Regions from separate parts of the Homo sapiens genome. Here regions 2 and 3 are each linked to region 1. The links are contacts of gene promoters, found by promoter capture Hi-C in blood cells and fetal thymus (Javierre and others, 2016). All regions are on one chromosome and are shown on one strand. Each heading gives the region's core, a stretch centred on a gene start or on the middle of the fragment in contact. The rest is flanking DNA. Distances are from core to core; before and after follow the strand shown.

Evidence for each region. Contacts are between HindIII fragments. The CHiCAGO score rates a contact against its expected background, and 5 or more counts as called.
Region 2: a fragment that was not itself captured here is called in contact with the fragment with the promoter of GPATCH2 in region 1 in 1 of 17 cell types (monocytes); the score reaches 5.4 in monocytes.
Region 3: a contact is called between a fragment that was not itself captured here and the fragment with the promoter of GPATCH2 in region 1, in 1 of 17 cell types (erythroblasts). The highest score is 9.9, in erythroblasts.

The regions. Positions count from the first base shown.
Region 1 is chr1:217,628,804-217,633,839 of GRCh38, reverse strand. It overlaps GPATCH2 (G-patch domain containing 2), which reads left to right and starts at 2,750. Exons shown (of 10, transcript NM_018040.5): 1 at 2,750-2,924. The coding sequence starts at 2,869. It overlaps SPATA17 (spermatogenesis associated 17), which reads right to left and starts at 2,496. Exons shown (of 11, transcript NM_138796.4): 1 at 2,394-2,496. The coding sequence starts at 2,461. RefSeq lists enhancers at 2,472-2,711, 2,742-2,811. The HindIII fragment of the contact is 9,292 bases long and covers 1-3,173 here.
Region 2 is chr1:219,088,592-219,093,627 of GRCh38, reverse strand. The region is part of intron 3 of LYPLAL1-DT (LYPLAL1 divergent transcript); the gene reads left to right. Among named protein-coding and RNA genes, the nearest start is that of LYPLAL1-DT, 83 kb to the left of the region's middle. RefSeq lists an enhancer at 4,357-4,406. The HindIII fragment of the contact is 1,926 bases long and covers 2,069-3,994 here.
Region 3 is chr1:216,597,797-216,602,832 of GRCh38, reverse strand. All of the region lies in intron 3 of ESRRG (estrogen related receptor gamma), which reads left to right. Among named protein-coding and RNA genes, the nearest start is that of ESRRG, 120 kb to the left of the region's middle. RefSeq lists enhancers at 1,334-1,433, 1,814-1,913, 1,759-2,327, 3,869-4,596 and a silencer at 1,534-1,713. The HindIII fragment of the contact is 2,981 bases long and covers 491-3,471 here.

The DNA of each region.
Region 1 (5,036 bases), core at 1,501-4,000:
AAGTCATCTTTCAGCTTCAGCGTTATTCTGATGCTAGCCATTAGGAAGAAGCCTTTTTGTCCGTACCTTGTTACGAAAACAGAAGACATTGAAAGAAACCAAGGAGACTTTAAATTGTTTCCCACAACTCTGTTCCCTACATGTTAACGGATTTGGGACAGTACACTCAAGCCATTTGGACCTCTGGATCTTGGTGCTTGTTGCAATTTAATTAAATCAGCTTAATGGGAAGAAAATTTTGTTTAGTGACAGTGAACAGCGGAGGTTTTAGAGTTAGATTAGTTGGCTCTGATAATTCATAATTGACCTCAAGACATCCGCCTGCCCTGGCCTCCCAACGTGCTGGGATTACAGGCCTGAGCCACTGTGCCTGGCCAATTAATTGTTTGTTTGGCACTTCATCAGGCTTTTCTAGAACATTGTTCTATAGCTCTAAAAATATAGATTATCTAATAAATAGATAATTTCTACATTAACTTATAACATTGTGATAACCAAGTGAAATATCATATGTAGTTGTTCCTGGTGCAATCCCTCATATATAATCAGTCCTCAAAAAATACTGGTTGTTTCCCTTTCTGTCCATGTTACTCTATTGTTGTTATTATTTATTTATTTATTTATTTATTTATTTATTTATTTGAGACAGAGTCTTGCTCTGTCGCCCAGGCTGGAGTGCAGTATTGCGATCTCGGCTCACTACAACCTCTGCCTCCTGGGTTCAACTGATTCTCTTGCCTCAGCTTCCAGAGTAGCTGGGACTACAGGCGTGCACCACCATGCCTGGCTGATTTTTGTAATTTTAGGAGAGACAGGGTTTTGCCATGTTGGCCAGTCTGGTCTGGAACTTCTGCCCTCAAGTGATCCATCTGCCTCTGCCTCCCAAAGTGCTGGGATTACAGGCATGAGCCACTGAGCCCAGCTAGTATTGTAATTATTTTTTAAAAGCCTATATTCCATACAAGGATGTGAACATCATGATGGATGGGGCTTATTTCATTTATATATGTCATAAATACAGCACCTGCCACATACTCTAAATAAATAGATAATTTCTATGTTTAGCTATTGTTAGTATGTTTACTTAAACCAGGGCTACAGATTTATTGAAAAATTCATTAATGTGAGTCTTCAACAATTATTGTGTTACTATTATTTGTATGGGGCTATCATAGACGTTGGAGACAAAAATAATGGTGAGCAAAATAAGAGACACTGTCTCTGCTACTAGTTTAAGAGGGGAGATAGATATTATCTCATAAAAGAATGTAAAATTGAATTGTGATCAGTGCTGTAAGAGAGGTACGTTGTGAAATAATGATGTAGTAGGTGAGATAAACGTTAGAATAAAAGCAGCTCAGCAAGACCCTATCTCATTGACATATTTTCCATTGGTCTGTCATGTCACTGTATTCCATAATAGTCTAATTCACTTTTTTGCAGTTTCTTTTAAGTTACAAAAACTCCTGGGGCAATGCTTCTTTAAAATGAAACTCTTCCTGGGCAAGAAGTTTGGCTGTAGGGAGATGAAGAAGACTGCTAGTGGTTTTCTTACCCGTTATCTATTAATTAATATATTGGTACTAGTTACCGTGTCAGAATGGTTTAGACACTTTCATTTTATTTTATTTTATTTATATTTATTTATTTATTTATTGAGACAGGGTCTTAATTTGTCACCCAGGCTGGAGTGCAGTGGTACAATGTCGGGTCACTGCAACCTCTGCCTCCCAGGTTCAAGCGATTCTCCTGCCTCAGCCTCCGGACTAGCTGGGATGACAGGCATGTGCCACCATGCCCGGCTAGTTTTTGTATTTTTAATAGAGACGGGGTTTCACCATGTTGTCCTGGTTGGTCTAGAACTCCTGGCCTCAGGTGATTCGCCCCCCTCGGCCTCCCAAAGTGCTGGGATTACAGGCGTGAGCCACCACACCCGGCAGATACGTTCATTTTAAAAAGGCGAATGAGTCATAGAACAATTGAGTTTAGTGATGTTTGTAAAATAACGGAGGCTCAAATCCCTAGGTAGATGGGACACAATCTGAGTTCATTGGGCTAGTGAGTCAGGGTGACCCCCAGTCAGGGTATTGAACATAGGTTTCATCAAATTGCAGAGTGGTGATGTCGAAGAAAAAAAGCACTTTACAATTTTATCTATGCTGGGAGTTTCCTTAAATCATCTCACACTGAATATCTACGGCCCCTCTCTATTTAGAATTTCGTTGTATGGTAACAGAAACTCCCAATTATGTTTGCAGCCCATTAAGGGAAGAATTGGGTACTACTTAATGAATTAGGGTAATCGTTAAATCGTTAATTGGAAACTCCCGCTGAGGAACAACTGGTATAAAGTCACGCCCGCCCTTTACGCGATCCTTCTCTTCCTGACTTACCTGTTCCTAAAGTAGTACTGATTTCCTACAGTCGACGACCTAGCTTGCAGCCGGGCTAACGTGGCCATGGTCTCTTGGCCTTGGGTTTACAACTGGTGTTACTACCGGTCTCCATGGTAACTGGGCTAAACCATAGCTCACTCCCGGGGTTCGACTTTTTGTTCACTCCTCTTTTCTCTCATGCTGCTTTGACTTTAAGAGCACTAAAAAGAGAATTAAGAAATTTCTGTGTAGCACAAAAGTTTAATTTATTTGTCTCTGTCTCTACTGCGAGTAGGAAGAGGGGATTATAGGAAGGGGAAAGCAGTAAACGCGGAGAACTAATGGTTGCTCCGGGCATCCGGTTTCCGCCGCCTGTCGGCTTCCGGAAGCTCATCTCAAAATGCTGAACTGCTCTTTGGAAGTCGCCGGTGCTGTTGTAGTTGGAGTCTGTTCACGGGCCTGAGCTTCGAGGCCAGGCTCCCGGGTGTCGTTAATGTTCGGGGCCGCCGGGCGCCAACCGATCGGAGCTCCAGCAGCCGGGAACAGCTGGTGAGGCTGGCGGCCCTGGGGAGGGGGAGGTCAGGGAAGGGTGTGATTGCCCGAGGCCGCTCCGCTGGACCTGGAATGGAGGCGGGAGGGAGCTGTGATGGATGATCTGAAGACATCTAGGCCTTGCTCTCACTCATTCCTGGGATGCACGCAGTTTGAGGGAGCTCTTGGGTGTGTGCCAAAGATTTGTGAAAGAATACAGTAAATGTTTTCTGATTGCTTGTTTAACAATATTTTAGAAGTCAAGCTTCCTGTACTCCAGGAGCAATTCATCTCCTCATTGATTGTTGACAACACTAGGGACAGGAAGAATTTATCTTAATCCGGGCCTTATTCCCCACTCCTCTTTCAATATTTACCAGATTATACCAAGTCTTTTGGAAGATAAATTCCAGAAATCTAGAGTTCTGGAAGTTCAATCGTGGAAAACACATCACCCTCTCACCCCCTTTTTTAAAGAGAGAGGGTAACCTACCTGTTTCCACCCTCTTGAACATTCTATTCAAGTTAAAGTGAGATATGTATGGGGGCTTTCCAAGAACCTATAACTGTCAGGATTAAGTTTGGGGCTTGACTATGTCTATGGTATCATGTTAGAATAATATATTGCTTTGACTTTTCAAAGTATTTCCACAAATTAATACACTTTATCCTATGACAGCCTTGTGATAGCAGAATATCACAAGCACAGAAAATTCAAGTACCGTGTCCAAAGTTGCCCTGTACATTTTAATCCTAGAGCTAGAATCCTGATTTGGGGATTTCTAGTTGAACACTCTGTATTATCTGTCCTGTTTTTCTCCCAAGCCCTTTTCCTCCAAACATAACATAAGACAACCAGTGACACAAACAAGCAATTTCCCATTGAAAATCCTCAAACATAAAGTTCTGACCAACAGGTGAAAGAAATGTGGCTAAATGGTGCGTGTTCATTCCTAGATTCTGCAAAAATTAGAACATGAGGAATTCTAGTAGTCTGTGATCTCAGATAATTGCTTTTCCATCACCTATCACTGAAAAGTTAAAAGAATACCTTATCCAAAATATTTCTAGTTGGACCTGATCATCCTGTAGTTAATTTTATAGTGAATATAGATTTGATTATACTATTTGTAAATTATTACATTTTCCAGTGAGAAAAGTAGGGAGCATTTTTTAAATGAACCAGTTTTTAATGGTATAACTAGCATAGAATGAAATGCACAATTTTTACAGGCTTAATTTTATTAGTTTTGGCAATTGCATATACTTATGTAAACACCACACAAAACAAGATAATGGATTTGTCCATCACCCCACAGTTCCCTCTCAAGGATACCTGTCTTAATGTTTCACTGTTCATTATCTTGGTTAAGTCAGGGAGACAAAATGTCCTATGTAGATTGGTCTGCTCTTCCTAGGGTGCTATTGATTTGTAGGGTAGGTGACTACATCAGAATGTGATTGATTCTCTCAACTTCTTTTACCTTTAAAATCATGGTTAGGTACTGAGAGAAACCTCCTTCAATTCTCTTTAAAGGCTCGCTTGTCATACAACTCACCATTTCTTATGGCACCAGAGTATAACAAAGTGGTAGCACTTAGTATTTTTGAATGAAATTCTAAAGTCATTCCTGTTCTGTCAGAATGAATATGTTCCAGAAAACTGGATCTTTATTTTCTAGTCTATCTGTATGACTATCTGTATGACTATCTGGAATGTAAAAATTCCAGATTTCTTAATGGAATTTTCTTCTTCATTAATTGAACAGATATTTACTATATAAGTATGTTTGATCCCAGTAATAAATTCCAGTCCCACTGGGAATACTGCTACTAAGCAGTTAATTAGGTGCCAGGTTTTACAAATATGTGTCATCTCATGTAAATCTTTTGAGGTAGGTGTATCATTCTTTGCATTTTAGATAAGGTGACACAGAAGCAAAGATGGTTTAAGTAACTGGCCTAAGTATCATATTTGCAGGATGATTCCAGTATACCCCCCCAAAATTCTTAACCACTTTTATATGTTGCCTATGTGTCTGAATGAGATATAATATCTCAAGGAATATGTAACCTAGCAGTTAGATGCCCAAATTTGTTAACCAGTCTGGATTTTCTGACTTATTTAGC
Region 2 (5,036 bases), core at 1,782-4,281, 1.5 Mb before region 1:
CAAGAAACCTTTGCCCAGACCAATGTCCTGTGGAGTTTTCCCAATGTTTTCTTTTGATAGTTTAATAGTCTTAGGTCTTAGATTTAGCTCTTTAATACATTTTGATTTGATTTTTGTAGATGATGAAAAATAGGGTTCTAGCTTCATTCTTCTGCCTATAGACGTCTAGTTTTCCTAGCACAATTTATTTAAGAGATTGTCTTTCTCCACTGTATGTTCTTGGCGCCTTTGTCAAAAATAAATTCAACATAGCTGTATGGATTTGTTTCTGATTTATCTATTCTGTTTCTTTGGTCTATGTGTCTGTTTTTATGCCAGTACCATGCTGTTTTGGTTACTATAGCTCTATAGAATAATTCAAAATCAGAGAATGTGCTTCCTCTCATTTTGTTCTTTTTGCTCAGAATGACTTTGGCTATTCTGGGTCTTTTGTGATTTCACATGAATTTTGGAATGATTTTTTTCTATTAATGTGAAGATTGTATTGGTATTTTAATAATGATTGCACTGAATCTGTAGATTACTTTGAATAGTGCAGACATTTTAACAATATTGATTCTTCCAATCCATGAGCATAGAGTATCTTTTCATTTTTTTCTGGTCTCCTCAATGTCTTGCATCAATGTTTTATAGAGTGCATTGTAGATATCTTTAAATTCTTTAGTTAAATTCATTTCTAGGTATGTTATTTTATTTGTAGCTATTGTAACTGGGATTACTTTCTTGATTTCTTTTTCAGATTGTTCACTGATGTAATATGTAAATACTATTGATTTTTATATGTTGATTTTGTATCCCTCAACTTTGCTGAATTTGTTTATTGGTTCTAATAGATTTTTGTTAAGGTCTTTAGGTATTTTTCAGATATAAGACCATATCATCTGCAAACAAAGATGACTTACTTCTTTTCAATTTGGATGTTCTTTATATCTTTTTCTTGTCTGATTGCTCTAACTAGAACTTCCAGTACTATGTTGAATAATAGTGGTGAAAGTGGATGTTTCGGTTTGTTCCAGATCTTAGAGAAAAAGTTTTCAGTTTTTCTGTATTCAGTGTGATGCTAGCTGTGTGTCTGTCATATATGGTTTTTATTGTGTTGAGATATATACTTCTATACCACATTTTTAGGGCTTTTATTATGAAAGGAGGTTGAATTTTATCTAATGCTTTTTACCTTCGGTTGAAATGATTGCATGTTTTTGTCCTTCATTCTTTTGAAATGATATATCACATTGATTTATTTGCATTTGCTGAATCATTCTTGCATCCCTGGCATAAATCCCTCTTGGTCATGATGAATTATCTTTTAAATGTGTTGTTGAATTTGGTTTGTGAGTATTTTGTTGAGGATTTTTGCATCAGTATTCATGTGGAACATTGGCCTGTAGTTTTCTTATTTTGATGTCTCTGTCTGATTTTGGTATCAGGGTAATACTGGCCTCACAGAATGAGTAAGGAAGTATTTGCTTCTTTATTTTTTTGGAATTGTTTGAATAGGATTAGATTAATATTAGTTCTTTAAATTTTGGGTGAAATTTAGCAGTTGAAGGCTTTGGGTCTCTGATTTTTCTTTACTGGGATACTTTTTAATATGGTGTTGAACTCATTACTTGTTATTGGTCTATTTAGATTTTGGAAATCTTCATGATTCGGTCTTGGTAGGTTGTATGTGTCTAGGATTCAATCTATTTCTTCTAGGTTTTCCAATTTACTGGCATGTAGTTGCTCATAGTAGTCTCTAATGATTCTCTGAACTGCAGTATCAGTTGTAATACCTCCTTTTTATCTCTCATTTTATTTATTTGGGTCTTCTATCTTTATGTCTTTGGCTAAATGTTTATCAATTTTATTTTTTTAAAATAAGCCACCTTTTTGTTTAATTGATATTTTGTATTGTTTGTTTTGTTTCAATTTCATTTATTTCTGCTTTGATCTTTATTATTTCTTTTCTCCTACTAATATTGGCTTTGGTTTGCTCTTTGTTTTCTAGTTCTTTAAGATGCATCATTAGGTTGTTAATTTGAGGATTATCTGCTTTTTTGATGTGGAGTGCTTATTGCTATAAGCTTTCTTCTTAGTATTGCTTTTGCTGCATTCCATAGGTTTTGATATATTGTGTTTCCATTTTTGTTTGTTTCAAGGAATTTTTAAATTTTATTCTTAATTTCTTCATTGACCCACTGGTCACTCTAGAGCATATTGTTTATTTTCCATGTGTTTGTATAGTTTCTGATATTTTTCTAATTATTTATTTCTAGTTTTATTCCATTGAGAATAAAACTGGAAAGATGAGACACTTGATATTTTTTCAATTTTTTAATTTTTTAAGACTTGTTTTTTGTTCTAACATGTGATCTATCCTTAAGAATGAGCCATGCCTTGAGGAGAAGAACGTGTATTCTGCAGCTCTTAAATGAAAGATTGTGTAAATATATATTAGGTCCATTTGGTATATAATGTAGATTAAGTCCAATGTTGTTGTTGGTGGTGGTTTTCTGTGTAGTGGTTCTGTCCAATGCTGAAAGTGGGGTGTTGAAGTCTCCAGCTAATATTGTATTAGGGTCTATCTCTCTCTTTAGCTCTAATAATATTTACTTAATATGTTTGAGTGTTCCAGTGTTGAATGTATATATATTTACAAGTGTTACACCCTCTTGCTAAGTTGACTTCTTTATCATTATATAATGACCTTCTTTGTCTCTGTTTATAGTTTTTGTTTTGAAATCTATTTTGTCTGATGTAAATATAGCTACTTCTGCTTTTTTTGTTTCCATTTTCATGCAATATTTTTCAGTTCCTATATTTTAAGTCTAAGTTAGTCTTTATAAGTGAAGCGTGTTTCTTATAGTTACCAGATTGTTAGAGCTTGTTTTTTTATTATTGTTATTGTTCAGGCTCTCTATGTCTTGTGATTGGAGAGTTTAGTCCATTTACATTCAATGTTATTATTAGTAAGTAAGGACTTACTACTGCCATTTTGTTATTTGTTTTCTGGGTGTTTTATGTGTGCTCTTCTCTTTCTTCCTTCCTTCTTCCCTGTATTCCTTTTTGGGAAGTTAATTTTTTTTGGTGGGTTGTTTTAATTTACTGATTTTCAGTTTTTTGTGTATCTGTTGTAGGTTTTATGATTTGAGGTGACCATGAGGTTTGGAAATAACATCTTAGAACTCATTATTTTAAACTGATCACAACTTAGCACTGGATACAAAACAATCCAAACTCACAACAACGAAAGAGAAAACTAATAAAAGCTCTACACTTTAACTTAATCCCCCTGCTTTCTAACTTTTTGTTGCTTCCATCTACGTTTTATTATACTATGTCTTAAAAGTTGTAGTTATTATTTTTGATAGGTTTATCTTTTAGTCTTCGTATTCAAGATATCAATAGTTCACGTACCACAATTACAGTGTTATAATATTGTGTGTTTGTTTGTGTACTTACTATTACCAGTGAGTTTTGTACCTTCAGATGACTTCCTATTGCTCATTAGTGTCCTTTCATTTTAGATTGAACAGCTCCCTTTAGCATTTCTTGTAGGGCAGTTCTGGTGTTGATGAAATCCCTCAGCTTTTGTTTGTCTGGGAAAGCCTATTTCTTCTTCATGTTTAATGGGTATTTTCACTGGGTGTACTCTTCTAGGATAAAAGTCTTTTTTCCTTCAGCACTTTAAATATGTAATGCCACTCTCTCCTAGATTGTAAGGTATGTTATTTGTGTCTTTTCTCTTGCTGCTTTTAGAATCCTTTCTTTATCCTTGACCTTTGGAAGTTTGATTATTAAATGTCTTGAGGTAGTTTTATTTGGATGAAATCTACTTGATGTTCTACAACCCATCTATACTTGAATTTTGATATATTTCTCTAGGTTTGAAAAGTTATCTGTTATTATCTCTTTGAATAAAATTTATACCTTGATCTCTGTACCTCCTCTTTAAGGCCAGTAAATCTTAATTTGCCCTTTTGAGATATTTTCTAGAACTTATAGGCAAGCTTCATTCTTTTCTATTCTTTTGTTTCTTTTGACTGTGTATTTTCAAATAGCCTGATTCTTTCTTCTGCTTGATCAGTTCTGCTGTTGGGAGACTCTGATGCATTCTTCTGTATGTCAATTCAATTTTTCAGCTCAGAATTTCTACATGTTTCAAAAATTATTTCAGTATCTTCGTTAAATTTATCTGATAGGATTCTGAATTCCTTCTCTGTGTTATCTTAAATTTCATTGAGCTTCCTCAAAATTTCTATTTTGAATTTTCTGTCACTCTTGGATTGATCAGTGGTGACTTTTTCAGTTTGTTTAGTGAGGTCATGATTTCCTGAATGGTCCTGATGCTTTTGGATGTTTGTGAGTGTCTGGGCATTGAATAGTTAGATATTTATTGTAATATTTGCAGTCTGCACTTGCTTGTACTCCTCTTGTGGAGGGGTGATGCAAGCTCCACTGTGACTACCACACTGAGACTGTGCTGAGTCACACCCAAAGATAGCACAGCACTGGGTCTTGCTCAAGACCCATGGTGACCACTGCCTAGTTACTGCCAGCGGAAGGAAGGAGTCTCCCCCAGGTTACTGAGCTGCACTGCCTGGGTTGGGGGAGGGGTGATGCAAGCACTCCCTTGTCCACCTGGCTGGTGTCTCATTAGGTCAACCCAAGTCTACTGCCTTCTAGCCCAGCACGCACCAAGACTTGCCCAGGAATTGCAGTCCTTGTCGCCTAGACTGCCTTTGAGGTTTATGTAGTATCCCAGAGTGCTTTGGCCCATGGTAGTGGGGCTAGCCAGAACTCTAGTTCCAACCACTGGGAAGGGCAATTCCTCTCTTGCTGGGACGGATATAAGGACTCCCTCCATGGGCACTGGCTGAGTTCTGCCTTATCTTGTTTTCTACTGTGGCTGGGCTGCACTGAGTTCCAATGCAAAGTCCCACATCACTGCACTCTCTCCCCCACAAGAACACAGATCCTCTCCGCAGCATCAGCAATTCAAGACTATCTTTCCTAACCTCTTCAATGCCTCTTTCTTTGATATGATGTTAGAA
Region 3 (5,036 bases), core at 732-3,231, 1.0 Mb after region 1:
TAATTTATAGCCAATTTGCATTTATTTTCTGAACATTGAGCTTGTGGAAAATCATTTCAGTGTTCGGTTAAACTGTGAAGATGTTGCTTGGCTAGGCAATTCATTGTATCATTATTTTGAAAACATAGTTCATAGTAATATATAGTGTATGTCAGGGAAATTCTTGTGAAATTTTAGAATAATCCTTGCAGATCTTCTCTCCGCTGCACAATCACCAATCCACTTGGGAACATTTAACTCAGAATAGATAATCCGGGGAGCTTGGTGTTAAAATGGCCAAAGTGTTCCAGGTCAGGCTGGGGATTAAACTGACACAATAGTTCATGGAAAAATTCTATTAGCACCTGTTACAGTTGGCCCTAGTTCTGATTTTCTTATCTCAGTCTTATTGTTTGAAAAATGTAAAGAAACAGATTATACTTGGTATTGATGAATCTTTGCCTTCACAAACAACATTTTATTTTTCGCATTATGTTTTGTATCAAAAGCTTGTTACATGTATGTACCTAGAACAGTCACAAAGTCTTTCAGGCTCATGACAAGTGAGGGTGTGTGACCCTTTAGCCTCTTCTAGTAAATGTAATGGAAGAGGAACCATGTACAACATAGTTACTCCTCAGTGATTCTACAAAATCCCTGAAAATTTTGAAAGCTGCCTTTACTACGGCACTTTCTTTGCTAATGGGGATAATACCCCTAACTGTGTGTGATATAACAACTATATTTAAAATTGAGGAATTTAAGTAGAACACAGAAAGGCTAGGATTTACTCAGACATTCCATACATTTTTATCCAATGCTTATTTCCTAGCTGTGTGATCTTGGGCAAGTCATTCAACCATTTTAAGCCTTCACTTTGTTGTTGTTAATTAAGAGGATTTTAATAACGCTCCCAAAGGCCCTATCGGTTGTAGGGCTTTGAATGGATTTCAGTGTTTAAAGATAAGTAGGGTACTTTTTAAAAATTCCAGAATGTTACAAAGTATATTATAGAAAGCCTGGCAGATAACCAATAATAATTAAGGAGCTATAAACATAATACTCTTTTTTGAACTTGATGCAAGCCCCTTCATCTATGCCTTTATTTCTCTTTCTAAATCTTAAGTAACATCTGCCTCCTGTTGTGATTAATGAAATAATATTCCAACTTGTGGGCAAGAGGGGAGTGGGTCCAACAGCTCTTGCAAGGGACCTGGGAAATACGCCACTGAAAAGAACGCAACTTGTACGAAATAGGTAAATCCCAAAGCCACCACATTTCTGCCCTGATTAAGGGCACCCCCTTGCTTATTCACTTTGAAGTCTTCTTCCTCTGTCATAACCAAGACAACTCGCGACAAGGAATCCTCTTCAGGAAATGTGTTAAGTCTTATCCGCACTTGTGTCTCTGATGCGCTCCCTCCAGCTTTCTTTTCTAGGATGCTTGGAGCCCCCCTCCTTCGCGGCGTTGGAGCGGGCTTTGGTTTCTGTTTGAAGCCCGGCGTCGGCTCCGGACGCGCGCAGCGCCCTCCGCGGTGGCTCCCAGGAAGTCCCTGGGAGTCTGCGGAGGGAGCCCCTGGGAGGCCCAGGGGTGGGCGCGGTCCGACGGCCGGGTGTCCTTCACGGGGCGTCCTTTCCACCCAGCTGTCCATGGAGCGAGCAGAGCCCCTGGCCGAGCGCCCGCCCGGGAGCCCGGGGCAGCCTGCGGGTGGCAGTGGGCAGGAGCCCGCGTTCCAAGCCGGCCTTGCTCCCCAACCCGCTGCTGCCGCCCGCGCTGCCGGGCTTCCTAGGCCTCCGCGAGGGCCTCAGCAACCCACGGGAGCCCAATCCAGGCAGAGAACCGGGGAGGAACGCCGAAGCAGCTCTTTCTCCCTCATAATTTGAGATGCTATTTTATCATCAACAGTCTGTGTTCAGACAGGAAAGATTGGGCTGAATAAATGTGTCCGGGAAACAGGATGCAGCCTGCGTCCAACCAGAGCGCGGCGGTTGTGTCCTGTGACCCGCTGTGAGGCTGATCATTCTGCATTGTTTACTCTTGTGCGTACATTTCAAAACACGGAATTACATCCGGAAATCTGGGTGAAAACGACATGGTCCCTAATTGTAAAGTTTTTTCACAGGACTTCAGATAAATGCAGTCATCTGTATACCTCAAGAGTGGATTTATTTATTTGGGATTTTTTTTTAAGACTTTATTTTTAAAATAACTAATGGGTACTAGGCTTAATACCTGGGTGATGAAATAACCTGCACAGCAAACCCACATGACACAATTTTACCCATGGAACAAGCTGCACATGTACCCCTGAACTTAAAAGTTAAAAAACAAAACAAAACAAAAACCCAGCACTTTTAGGCTGACAGCAAAATTGAGCAAAAAGTACAGAGTTAATATCCCCTGACCCGCCCCCCTTCATCCATACCCTCCCTCATTATCAACATTTCCCAGTAGACTGGTACATTTGTTAACAATCGATGAATCCGCATGGATACGTCATTATTACCCAAAGAAGTCCATAGTTTATGTGGGGGTTCACTCTTGGTGTTATACATTCTGTGGGTTTTGACAAATGTATAATGACACGTATCTACCATTATAGTATTACATAGAATGGTTTCAGTGTCCTAAAAATCCTCTCTGCTCTGCCTAGTCACCCTTCCCTTCCCCAACCCCCGGCCAAAATGGATTTAAAAGAAAAATAACGTATCAGACCAGAAGTTTCTCCCTAATTAGTTGCTTGTTTTCCTCATGGACTGCTTCCGGCTCCTAGAGAAGACATCATAGCATGAAGCATTCTTGCACGGTTTAGGTTTTGTTAACAGGGGCTATTAGTGTGTGTGACTTCTTAATCCCCCTTCTGCTGAGGGGCATCTCCAGCCCAGTTTTAATTAACAGGGAAATGCTCATATTATTTTGGTACACTGATTATAGGCGAAGCCTAAGTGGAAGTCACTTTGGTGTCCCAAGGGATTTCCGTGTTAAAAATGCATAGGGTACCTTTTTCTTCTCTTTCTTTTTTTTTTTTTCCTGTTAATTCTCCTCCTCCATGAACTCCAGATAAGCAGCAGGCCCGAGCCAGATTTCATTACTATCACGCACTCTTCATGGTCATCTTTTAATATTTGAAAGGATCATTTGTTAACTGGAAATGGTCAATTTTTTTTTCTTTGGCTTTTGAAATATAATTTTCAATTTTTAATTTGATTCATTTAGATGAAATCATTAATCAGGGTTGAAACTGAGTTAATTTTCTGGAAAATAAATGAGGTTGTTAGAGTGAACATTATTAAGTGGGCTCTTTGTAAGAAAGGGATAATAGCTGAAAATATGGAATACTTGGAGAACTGTAGCACTTGGGTAAAAATCGAAAGGATTTTTTTTCCTTGTTAAGTGGAATAATTCATTTTCAAAATTAGATCAGAGGATTTTTAGCATTAAGCATAATAAACACCCCATTAATTATATTAGAAATTGTAAATAGCAAAGCTTCAAGAAATTGTAAGGAAAGTACACTGTGTAAAGTTCTTCTTGTTGTGAGATGTTAGGACATATACTTTCTGATGTGGTTTTACTTTTTCTTTTGAAATGACTTGTGAACCAGTACTAGCTTTGGTATATTTCATCTCTTGTGTCTCTGGTTAAATTTTCAAGATCTTTAATTGTGGGTTGATTATAAAATAAATCAGAAAAAATTTATTGGAACCCCCTATGAATATCTAAACCTCTAATATTTTTCATTTTCTGACACTTTGCAATCTGATTTGCAACCAATCTCCTTCAGATAATCTTCTTTTTTAACTACATGTACCATACCCATAACTTCACCTAAGTTCCCAGATCCCTCTTGCACTCAAGCATTCAATTTATAACATATTATTTTAAATATTGATTATTTAATATTTCTTTCTATAGGTATGTTTTCTTCCTTACCTAGATTTCAAAAGCTTTGAGTGTCAGAATTGTGTCTTTGTATACCATATGCTCTTCTCTGCACACAGTAGGCATTAAATTAATTCTTTTTGACTGACTGACTCAGTGAATTATGGGAAACTGATGAGGTATACAAATAGCTTAGAAGCAAACCCAGATCCCAGACCATATCAAGCCTCTTTTTTTTTTCCAGCCAAACCTGGATCAAGTTTTAGCCATTAAAGAAGAAAGCATATTTCACTGACTTGCTGTGAGAGCACAGCATGACTTTAAGTGATTAGGATGGTGAGCAAAATACCCTTCCCAAGAAAACAAAGAAAGCTGAGATTTGGCCAGACATCCAGCCACCTCAATTCACCATTTAAGTAAGATGCAGGTCACTGGAGAATTCCCTGCTCATTGTTGCTTCTAATTGTTGCCTCCATTTTTTCATTTCTTACAGTCTCACAAGGTGGGTTGTTCCATATGAACAATTTCTTTCAGCGATTTTTGTTGAATATTCTATATAGAGAAGTTCCCATTAATGCAGTTCAAGAGATTTTTATTGGCACTCCCACAAATGCCACATCTATTTGCAGATACATGTAGCAGCCACAGTCCACTCAGCCACCAGAGGTTCCAAGCTAAACCTGCTTAGAGCTTAAATTTAGCTGGCAGGATGAATTGCACCATAGATTCAACCTGTCTATGTGTTTCTCTACAGTTTTTCTATTCACAGTTCTATATTTCCTATAAAACAATATAAATGGAGGATTAAATTGAACTATTGGTCTTTAGAAGTCAACATGTATCTCAAAGATGCCCTTCCATTCCTTGATCTTGGTAAGTTAATATGTATGAAGTATTCAGGGCAGTGAATGTTCCACAATATACATTTAATAAATGTAAATTATTGTTATTATTATTCACTGAAACAATAAAGAAGGGAAAAGCCTATATGGGTTGATAGGTATACTGTGGAATATTGTATGTGAATGTGGATGTACATATGTGTCACCCTTCACACTGTAGGTTGAATGAAGGTCTTTCTAAAATACGAGTATGATCAAGTCACTCATTTTCTGTCCCCTTCATTTATCCACACTACGTCACTCCTTAAATCCATCAGTGGCTCTAGAAGTAT